Linked DNA regions of Homo sapiens: regions 1 and 3 are each linked to region 2. Evidence: promoter capture Hi-C in human tissues and cell types (Jung and others, 2019). All regions are on one chromosome and are shown on one strand. Each heading gives the region's core, a stretch centred on a gene start or on the middle of the fragment in contact. The rest is flanking DNA. Distances are from core to core; before and after follow the strand shown. Region 1 overlaps SUSD1 (sushi domain containing 1). Region 2 holds the start of SLC46A2 (solute carrier family 46 member 2). Region 3 overlaps SUSD1 (sushi domain containing 1).

What was found. Contacts are between HindIII fragments. The study calls those that stand out against the background at their distance.
Region 1: a contact is called between a fragment that was not itself captured here and the fragment with the promoter of SLC46A2 in region 2, in 1 of the 25 tissues and cell types used here (H1 embryonic stem cells).
Region 3: a fragment that was not itself captured here is called in contact with the fragment with the promoter of SLC46A2 in region 2 in 1 of the 25 tissues and cell types used here (heart left ventricle).

What each region holds. Positions count from the first base shown.
Region 1 is chr9:112,148,949-112,152,270 of GRCh38, forward strand. It overlaps SUSD1 (sushi domain containing 1), which reads right to left. Exons shown (of 17, transcript NM_022486.5): 3 at 296-451. Among named protein-coding and RNA genes, the nearest start is that of SUSD1, 25 kb to the right of the region's middle. The HindIII fragment of the contact is 3,844 bases long and covers 1-3,322 here.
Region 2 is chr9:112,889,583-112,893,385 of GRCh38, forward strand. It overlaps SLC46A2 (solute carrier family 46 member 2), which reads right to left and starts at 1,294. Exons shown (of 4, transcript NM_033051.4): 1 at 1-1,294. The coding sequence starts at 1,099. The HindIII fragment of the contact is 12,966 bases long and covers 1-3,803 here.
Region 3 is chr9:112,111,611-112,114,937 of GRCh38, forward strand. It overlaps SUSD1 (sushi domain containing 1), which reads right to left. Exons shown (of 17, transcript NM_022486.5): 7 at 1,161-1,258; 8 at 44-230. Among named protein-coding and RNA genes, the nearest start is that of SUSD1, 62 kb to the right of the region's middle. The HindIII fragment of the contact is 6,336 bases long and covers 1-3,327 here.

The DNA of each region.
Region 1 (3,322 bases), core at 645-3,144, 740 kb before region 2:
AGAATATTACAATGAACTCCCATAGACCCACATCCCCCCAAGATTCAATCGTTGTTTACATTTTGCCATTTAAAGTAGCTTACAGACTAAAGGAACACTATTATAGATACATCATCATAACACCCCTAGATACCTCAGCATGCATCTCCCAAAATAAGAATATTATCCTATATACCACAATACCATTATGCCATCTAACAAAACTAACATTAATTCCCTAATATTAACAAATACACAGCCCAGATACTATCCTGCCATCGCCAATTGTCAACACCGCAGCCCCCTTCTTGAGTACCTGTACAAAAGGTGCCATCGTTGGGAATGAATGTCTTGTTGTTGTTTGTGGCTCGATATCCTTCCAGGCAAATGCAATAGAAGCCCCCGGGGGTGTTGTGGCAAGATGTGTGGTTCCCACAGACAAGAGTGGCTCCAAACTGGCACTCATTTTTATCTGTTGACACACAGACAAGGCACCGGAAGAGCTATCAATCCACACCGACTTCAACAGCCCAGACTGTCCTCCCATGCTATGGACTCGGGAACCAACGTTCTGTGACCACACCTTAGTGATCTATTTCTCCAGCCTCTTCTCCTTTCACGATGCTCCCCAGACTACAGGACCTGGGCCCCTCGTAGTTATGTGCCAGGAGTGTATGAAACCCCAAGAGAAACACAACACCTCAATCTGGCAATCCGTCTGATTTGAAGATTGGGAGAAGAGGGTTCTCTTTGAACTTTTCCAAGCTTAAAAAGATCTTTTCAGAGGCCCACGGAAACAAACCAGCAGAATTCCCCTTTTCCAGTTCAGCCATTCTCATGGTTTTCCATGAAAGCCAGGGTAGGGTGACTTTACAGCCAGTGATTAACTGGAAAATTTCTTCCTTCTGAACTACCAAGAAACACAATGGAATTAGTGCTGCAGCCTCATCCGGAGCAGGGCTAATGCAGAAGCAGGAATAGCTCATGCTAATGGTCAATGACCTGTGGTGAATAATGTTAGTCCCTCAGTGCAGAGGCCTGGAACATGGATGCTCGATGAGTCCCCAGAAGCTTGCCCAGAGTGTTTTTCATTGAATAATATGAAAGTGAAAGATGCAAAATGAACGTAAATCTCCCTCTCATCTCTGCCCTCTAGCTCAGGGGTCAGCAAACTTTTTCTCACAGTATCTGTTGCAACAACTCACCTGTGCTCATGGGCACGAAAGCAGCTGTAGACAACAGGTAAACTACCAAGCAATGCTACGTACCAGTAAAACTCCACCTACAGAAACAGGCAGCAGGTCGAACTTGGCCCATGGGCCATAGTTTGCTGACTCTGCCTAACCCTCTAATTTAAGAGGAAACTCCTGTGACCAAATTGTTTATGCATCCTTTTAGAGCTGATCTACACAGTTAGCTTTTTTTGGGAGAAAAATCATCAACTTATGAATTTGTAGCTTGTTTGTTACTTCGTGTTTTATTTCACCAGTGGGCCCCTCATATCCGTTTAATGGCCTCTCACAATTGCACTCAATTCTTATTCAACCAAAAGTACCCTCCAGAAGATCTGGGTGGGTTTTTTATTATTATTTTTATTTTACAGTCATATGTCACTTAATGATGGGGACACATACTGAGGATTGTGTCATTAGGCAAGTTCATGATTGTGGGAACATCATAGGGTGTATTTACACAAACCTAAATGGCATAGCCAACTACACACTTAGGTTATATGGTAGAGTGTAGTGCTCCTAGGCTAGAAACCTGTATAGCATGTTACTGTACTGAATACCGTAGGCAACTGTAACACAGTGGGAAGTATTAGTGTATCTAAATATATCTAAACATAGAAGTGGTACAGTAAAAATACAGTATAAAATGTAAAAAACTGATACATCTCTAGAGAGCACTTACCATGAAATGGAACTTGCAGGACTGGAAGCTGCTCTAGGTAAGTCAGTGAGTGAGTGAATAGGAAGGCCTAGAACGTTATGATACATGACTGTAGACTTTTATTTTTATATAGAGACAGGGTCTCCCTCTGTCACCCAGGCTAAATTGCACTGGCACGATCATAGCTCACTGCAGCCTTGAACTCCTGGGCTCAAGCAATCCTCTTGCCTCAGCCTCCTGGGGCTAGGAGCAGCTAGCACTACAGGCACAAGCCATCGTGCCCAGTTAATTTCTAGTTTCTAATTGTAGAGATCAGCTCTCACTATGTTGCCCAGGCTGGTCTCAAACTCCTGGCCTTAAGGGATCCTCCCACCTTAGCCTCCCAAAGAGCTCCCAAAGGGATTACAGGTGTGAGCCACCACATCCAGCCTTACTGTAAACTTTCTAAACACTGTACACATAGGCTACACTAAATTTATAAAAGTATCTTTCTTGGCCAGGCACGTTGGTTCACACCTGTAATCCCAGAACTTTGGGAGGCTGAGGCAGGAGGATCGCCTGAGGTCAGGAGTTCGAGACCAGCCTGGCCAACATGGTGAAACCCCATCTCTACTAAAAATACAAAAATTAGCTGGGCATAATGGCGGGCACCTGTAATTCCAACTACTCAGGAGGCTGAGGCAGGAGAATTGCTTGAACCCGGGAAGTGGAGGTTGTAGCAAGCAGAGATCATGCCATTGCACTCCAGCTGGGCAACAAGAGTGAAATTCCATCTCAAAAAAAAAAAAGTATCTTTCTTGGCCGGGCACAGTGGCTCACGTCTGTAATCCCAGCACTTTGGGAGGCCAAGGCAGGCAGATCACCTGAGGTCAGGAGTTCAAGACCATCCTGGCCAACAAGGTGAAACCCCGTCTCTACTAAAAATACAAAAATTAGGCCGGGTGCGGTGGCTCATGCCTGTAATCCCAGCACTTTGGGAGGCTGAGGTGGGCGGATCACCTGAGGTCAGGAGTTCAAGACCAGCCTCAACATGGAGAAACCCCGTCTCTACTAAAAATACAAAATTAGCCGGGCACAGTGGTACATGCCTGTAATCTCAGTTACTCAGGAGGCTGAGGCAGGAGAATTGCTTGAACCTGGGAGGCAGAGGTTGCAGTGAGCCAAGATCGCGCCATTGCACTCCAGCCTGGGCAACAAGAGCAAAACTCCATCTCAAAAAAAAAAATACAAAAATTAGCCAGTTGTGGTGGTGCACGCCTGTAATCCCAGCTACTTGGGAGGCTGAGGCAGGAGAATCATTTGAACCCAGGAGGCGGAGGTTGCAGTGAGCCGAGATCGCGCCATTGCACTCCAGCCAGGGTGACAGAGTGAGACTCTGTCTCAAAAAAAAAAAAAAAAGGGATCTTTCTTCAATAATAAATTAACTTTAGCTTACTGTAGCTTTTTTACT
Region 2 (3,803 bases), core at 44-2,543:
AAGCCAAGAGGAGGGCTCCTGACCCAAAGGAGACCATCCCAATCATGATCATGGTGGTGTCCCGAAAGCAGCGGGAGAAGACCAGGACACCCAGGAAGCTGGTGATGAAGATGGTGTACCCTGCAGCCATACCATAGCCCACCTGCACTTGGTTCCAACCGAGAGGCTCCCTCAGCACAAAAAGAGGGATCACGTCCACTGTGCCCACCACCGCCAGGTCATATATGATAGCACCCACAAAGAGCAAGGCAATGGTGGTTTTATGGGGTTTTGCTTTTCCAGGAGATGGAGGGTGCCCCACTGCATACTGTTGGTCCAACTGATCAGGATCCAGAGTGCGGTATGTGCCAACCGTGCCAGACACGGTATCCACGGCGGGGAGCTCCTGGCTGGGTTTGGCCACCGACTCAGGGACCTTTAGCACCAAAAGGCTGTAGAGCAGGGCAAACGAGGCACAGCTCACGCTGCAGGCCGTCAGTATCAGGCCCTGCCCAGAGTGCCCAGCCATCTGCTTGAAGAGATGCCCGGAAGCCATGCTCCCGCAGAACCCCGCCAAGCCCAGCATCAGGTCAATGAGGATGAGGCGCACAGAGCGGCGGCCCTCGGAGGAGCCCAGCGATCCCAGCGCCATGACCCCGGACCAGAAGGCGGAGAAGCCGCCGAATAGCCCGTTCAGCGCCGCCGCCCCGTACAGCACCTCCACTGGCCAGTCCAGCAGCACCTTGAGCAGCAGCCCGAGGCGGGAGAGCAGGAAGCCCAGCAGCGACATGCAGATGGAGATCTTTCGGTGGTAGCGGTCGCTGAGCCATCCCAGCCCGTAGGCGGACAGCAGGGGGGACAGGCCCACCACAAGGTTGTAGATAATGTAGAAATTGGAGATGGCTCTCTGCTGTTGGTCCTCTAGAGCCCCCCGGGGCGATGGGCTGGCACTGTGGTTGGAGGAGCCTCCGGTTCCGTAGGACGCCTTCACCACGAGGAGTAGCCCCGCATCGTAGAGGGAGGCAGCCACCTGGGACGAGGCCACCACGGGCTCAACCCAGGTCCTCGGGTGGAAGCGAGGCAGGTGGCCCCTCCGCGGGCAGGTGACCTCGGGGCTCATGTGACCTCTCTGATGGGGATCGAAGGGCTTTCTGGCTGCAGTGACAAGGATATGCTCCCAAATTCGGCTGCTACGGCTGCTCAGGTTTCAGTCCCGGAGCGCGAGTGTGCTCCGTGCGCCGGGAGCGCGAGTGTGCTCCGTGCGCCGGGAGCGCGCCGGCCAGTGGCGAGCAGAGCCAGGGCACGCAGCGCCTGTGACAGCAGCCCGCCCAGCAGCCGAGTGACCTCCCGAGTGACTCCTCCTCAGGCCAGAAAAGGCCGCGCTCCACCCTGCCCTCGCCACCTCAGGCAGAGTAGGACTGGCGACAGTCCAGGGAAGCCAGGCGCGGGGGAGCGCACCGCGAGTGCTGGCTCCTGGCGCCAGCACCCCCGGGGCCGACGGGTCACGCTGCTCCTGTGAGCGCGGCCGCCTGACGGGGCCGAATTTCCCCACAGCCAGGCGTGCGTGCCCGGACCTCCCGCGGATCTCTGCGGACCCCCCACCACCGGGGCAGGGGCTGGAAGGAAGCTCCCCAGGACTGGCTCAGGGAGCGTTTCCAAATTCTCCCATCCCAGGAAGGCAGGTTTGCGCGAGGGGTGGGACGCCTAGGATTCTGCCTAGGATAAGTATTGGGGTGTGAAGTTTTATTTATAGATTTAATGCAACAGGGGCCCATGTGCTATAGGCAGCTGGGTAGCACTTTGAGAGAAGTAAAAACTTGGGAGCCGCCAGGTCCAGGCTCTTCTCCAAGCCAAAGGCCTCTTAGAGAAGAGTCCTGTTTGGTACACCTGCATTGGTGGGCCTAGTGCCTGGGCCTTGTCTAGAAGGCTCCTGCCCCAAACCCCAGGGCCAAGGGAGAGACGGCAAGATCCTGCCAGCCCTAGATGTCCCCCTAGATGATAAAACTGGACTCTTGGGCAGGGGCTTGAGCCCACTGGAAGGGGCAGAGTCACCAGGGTCCTCATCTGAATCAAGTGCCCAGGTCCCTTTCTGCTTGTTAGTAGTCACTCTTCTTCTGTCTGTGGGCTCACTCCCCTGGGCTGGGCTGAGACCTCCACTTCCCAGGTGGCCTCGCTTCTTGTTTAGGTACATACTTCTGCAAAGAAAACCAGGGTGATGGATGGTGCAGGGGCCAAAATGTACCACAGAGCATGACCTGTTCCATGGTCAGCCCCAGGGATGGAGACTCAAAGCACACAGCCTTCCTGTCCCTCTACCCACAATCCACTATAGCTCTGGCAGCGTGGATGATCAGGAACCCAAAGACATGAAAGGGAGACGCAGGTATGCAGGGAGAGCTTAAAATGCCACATGGATAATATACTCATGTAGGGAGTAGGGACTGGATTCCAAATGATTTAGTGTATCTATGTGCTCTTTTGGTAGTGTTTAGGTGGGCTATAATCTCCTCCCCTGCCACCCTCAACCTCCAGCATGGCCCAGCCTCCTCGTGTCTAGGCCCAGACGACTCTGCCTTCTGCAAAGAGAAAGACACACCTAGTCTTGCCCTTCAAGATGTGCCCCATGGATCTGGCCCAGCAGCCCATTTCCTTCTTCCTCCCCCTCACCTAGGGTCACCTTGGGAGATACATGTTTCACCCAACCCAAGCCTGGCTCTCCCACTCCATTCTTAATTTTTCCAGAGGCTACAGCAAACAGTCCAAACACCTTGATCCTATGAGGGGTGGAGACTCCAGTGAATGAGTAGGTTATGGGGCCAGGTGGTATTCCACAATCAAATATGGCCATGAGAACAACCTGACCCAGATGGACCACTCTGGCCACTTGATCAAGGAGTCTGTGCATTCTAGGGCTCTAGACTGTAGGGGGCAGCCCTTGTCATCTCTGGGAGGGTCTGTGGTATTTCAGTTCTTCCCATTGTCTTGGGAAACCAGGGACATTTGAAGGGTCTCTGAGAGAGTCACATCAGATCTAGAACAGATCTAGTAGGAGCTGGGTTATTAGGATGCTAGTCAGCCCTAGGAACCCCCAGGCTTCTGAGTTCTCTGGCCTGGAAATGAACAAGACTCAGGGTAGTCAGTGTCTCTCCCAGTTTAGGCTACTGTGGGTTGGATTATATTCTCATCATGTCCCCACTTCTTGCTCCATCTCTGAATGCAGGCCCCAGGTGAGCTAGCACCTGGTCATCCTCTGCAGCCCAGGCTACCAGCAAGTAGAGCCCTGACCTTGCCACTTCAAGATAGAATCTAGTCTCCAGTGCAAGGTTGGCTTCATTAAAGTGCAAGTACTAAATCTCTGATGTTTAGATTGATAAAATCACACTATTCCAGAAGAAAGGAACTAAGAAAAAAAACAGTAGCAACTAATATTTTTTGAGCCCTTATTATGTACTAAGCATTTTACGTGAATGAATTTAATCCTCCCGAGAAGTCTGTGAGCTGATCTATCACCCCATTTTTACAGACTGAGATACTGAAACCAGAGAGGTTAGGAAATTTGCACAAGATCACAAGGCCAGTAAATCAGGAAACTAGTATTTGGCATCAGACAGTCTTTGCAAGCCTACAGCTATGGGGAAAATACAGTTGCCAGAAATTTTTATTTGAGGATGTCCTCTTAACCCACATTGGAATGTGGAGAGGAGTAGAAACAACACAATCATGTTGTGATTATTGTTGATCAACAATGTATTGCATAAATAGGAACAAGAGAGTGGATAGATTATCTGTTGAACCTATATCCCAGGCACTTTACACTCAGGCAA
Region 3 (3,327 bases), core at 771-3,270, 780 kb before region 2:
CTTAGCATTTTCTAGGAGGAAATGAGACTTCACCTCCACCTACCAGCTGTCTGGAAACCGATGACGGCTGGCATCGAGCGCCTGGGAGGTGCTGTGGAGATGTTCACGGTGTAGTTGGTGCCTGGGTACAGGGCTAGGCACACTTCTGGGGTCCTGCTGTCTGTGGTCAAGTTGACTGTCTCCTCACGAACTGATTCCATAGGGTCCAACCGTTGTCCTTTTATGGATATCTTTGAGAGGAAAAGACAAGAGAACCCACTCTGACTCCAGTCAAAACAATCCAGGATTTGTGGTGCTGGAGCCCATTCTCCTACTATTCTATTTTATACTGTGCTGCTCAGCCAGGGAGCATTCGTAAGGTAAACCTGGTCTGCTGATAAAGTCTGATCAGCCCAGTGAATATTAAACCCCTAGAGGAGACATAAATGAGAAATCTCCCTAGGAAGTGCTCTCCTGCACACAAATGATCAAATGGAGACAATTGCAACCTGAGGACCATTGGCTGCACTCTGTCACCAAGTCAGCAGACGCTCCCGGGCTTGCTCTGGGGGAGTGAAATACAAGTGCTTGGAAACAAGCAATCGTGAGGATGCCAAATATAAATGCATCCCCCACACATGCACCCTGCTGAATGACAAATATGTTAAACACAAAATGCAAAATAACGAAATCATCCAGATATCTTCAAAAATTCCATCCACTCTTTTTAAATGACAATGGGATCAGAAAGCAATTAGATTGAGGCCAGGCGCGGTGGCTCATGCCTATAATCCCAGCACTCTGGGAGGCCGAGGTAGGTGGATTATCTGAGGTCAGAAGTTCAAGACCAGCCTGGCCAACGTGGTGAAACCCCATCTCTACTGAAAATACAAAAAATTAGCCAAGCATGGTAGTGCACACCTCTAATCCCAGCTACTCAGGAGGCTGAGGCAGGAGAATCGCTTGAACCCGGGAGGCTGAGGTTGCAGTGAGCCAAGATCCCACCACTGCACTCCAGCCTGGGCAACAGAGTGAGACTGTCTCACAAAAAAAATAAAAGAAAAAAAGAAAAAAAAACAGCAATTAGATTGAGAAGCTCTCACGGAAGCAAGTCCCTCTGACTCATATTCCCATGGGTGACGTGTCTGTCCTAGCAGGAAAAAGTAGATCACTTTACTTACCACATATGAGATCTTGGGGTTTATTCTTCTTGAGTTTATTTGCCATCTCACACAGGTATCATTAAACAGTGATACATCATTAATCTTTGTCAGAATTTCTAAAAGAGAAAAAGGCAGTCAACTCACAAAATGCATCAATGGGCTTTAGCAAAATTCTAAAGGAGATCAGTCTCTCTGCATAGCTGGTATCTCTGCTGGTCACCATTCATCCTCAGAGGCAGACACTGAGTCAGGCAATGCAAGCTCTCCCAAGCCAATCACCCAACTTCTCTTCATCATGAATGAGCGTGGCCCATTACCTGACTTAGAGGGAAAGGAAAGATTCCAGCTTGGATATAGGTCAGAATTCTAACCTGTGATTCACCTGACAGGCCACTGGATGCCACTGGCATTCCACTCTGGTAGAATGGAATGAGGCCCAGAGCTGGGTCCTCAGTGAGACCTTCCCTGCAACTGCACAGGTAAGACCTACTTCCACCTTTCTCTTCCCAGCAGAATGATGGGAAACTCCTTCAAGTCACTGCTATCCCCAGGGGGAAAATGACATGTCTCACCACACAGGACCATGCCTCAGAAACAGGTTGGGGCAAACTAAAGAAATTCTCCACAAGGTTCCTAGGTACTTCTGGGACTCCTGTAACTGAAGCTATTTAATCCTGGTCTATCAGGATGCCACTGATTCCTCTGGGTTGTTCTGCTTCTTTTAAATATTCTGCATATATTCCAGCTAATGAATTCAGCAATGTGGGAAACCATATGAAGGCCTTGGTTCCCTGAGGTAACATAGTTTTCAGCATTCCCAGTCAACCCGCAAGTGGTTGTGCAGACAGGAAGAACGAAAGGGGATCTAGCTTTTTATTTCTTTGAAATCAAATTCCCAGCCGAGTGCAGTGGCTCACACCTGTAATCTCAGCACTTTGGGAGGCCAAGGTTGGCGGATTACCTGAGCTCAGAAGTTTGAGACCAGCCTGGCCAACATAGTGAAACCCCATCTCTACTAAAAATACAAAACTTAGCGGTGCACGGTGGCACATGCCTGTAATCTCAACTACCTGGGAGGCTGAGGCAGGAGAATCACTTGAACCTGGGAGGCAGAGGTTGCAGTGAGCTGAGATTGCACCACTGCACTCCAGCCTGGGTGACGGAGCAAAACTCCATCTCAAAAGTAATAAAATAAAATAAAATAAACTTCCTACAGACAAGTAAAACTATCTCTACTTGCAAATGATACAATCTTATATACTTCTATATATAAAACTCTAAGGAATCCACACCAAAACAAGTATTACAGCTGAGAAAGGAGGTCAGTGAGGTTGCGGGATACAAGGTCAATGTACAAAAATCTATTGTATTTCTATATACTAGCAATGAGCAGTCCAAAGATGAAATTAAGAAAACAATTTCATTTACAATACTATCAAAAACAAACAGGCCTGGTGCAATAGCTCACGCCTGTAATCACAGCACTTTGGGAGGCCAAGGCAGGTTGGTCACCTGAAGTCAGGAGTTCAAGACCAGCCTGGCTAACATGGCAAAACCCCGTCTCTACTAAAAATACAAAAATTAGCTGGGCATGGTGGTGCATGCCTGTAGTCCCAGCTACTTGGGAGGCTGAGGCAGGAGAATCACTTGAACCTGGGAGGCAGAGGTGGCAGTGAGCCAAGATCCTGCCACTGCACTCCAGCCTGGGTGACAGAGTGAGACTCCATCTCAAAAACAAAAACAAAAACAAACAAACAAAATTCCTGCAGACAGAAGCTATCATATAATTATTCCCAGAGAAAGTTGTCCTCATGTCACCAAAAAGGGATATTCCACAGCCCCAGCTCAAGCTTTCCCATTGAAGCAGACACCTCTTAAGAACTCCTCAGCCTCTCTCAGCTTCCCCTGCTCCTTGTCCCATCCCTGGATGGGTTTTGACAACATGACCAGGTCTTGCCTCCTATTCTGGGACTTCCCTGCTGCAGCACCCACACCCCAGCACATGCCATCTGGAAGTGCAGGGGAGTTAAAATCCTGTGGGGACAGGAGCTGGTAGAGAAATCCTTCCTCCTTTCTTTCCTCTGAAGGGCTGTCCAACAAAGACTTAGTTTCTTCAGCGTCTAAGGACACTGTCACACAGATGTGGTAATGCCCACCCTCTGTGGAGACCAGTACAATCAGGCAT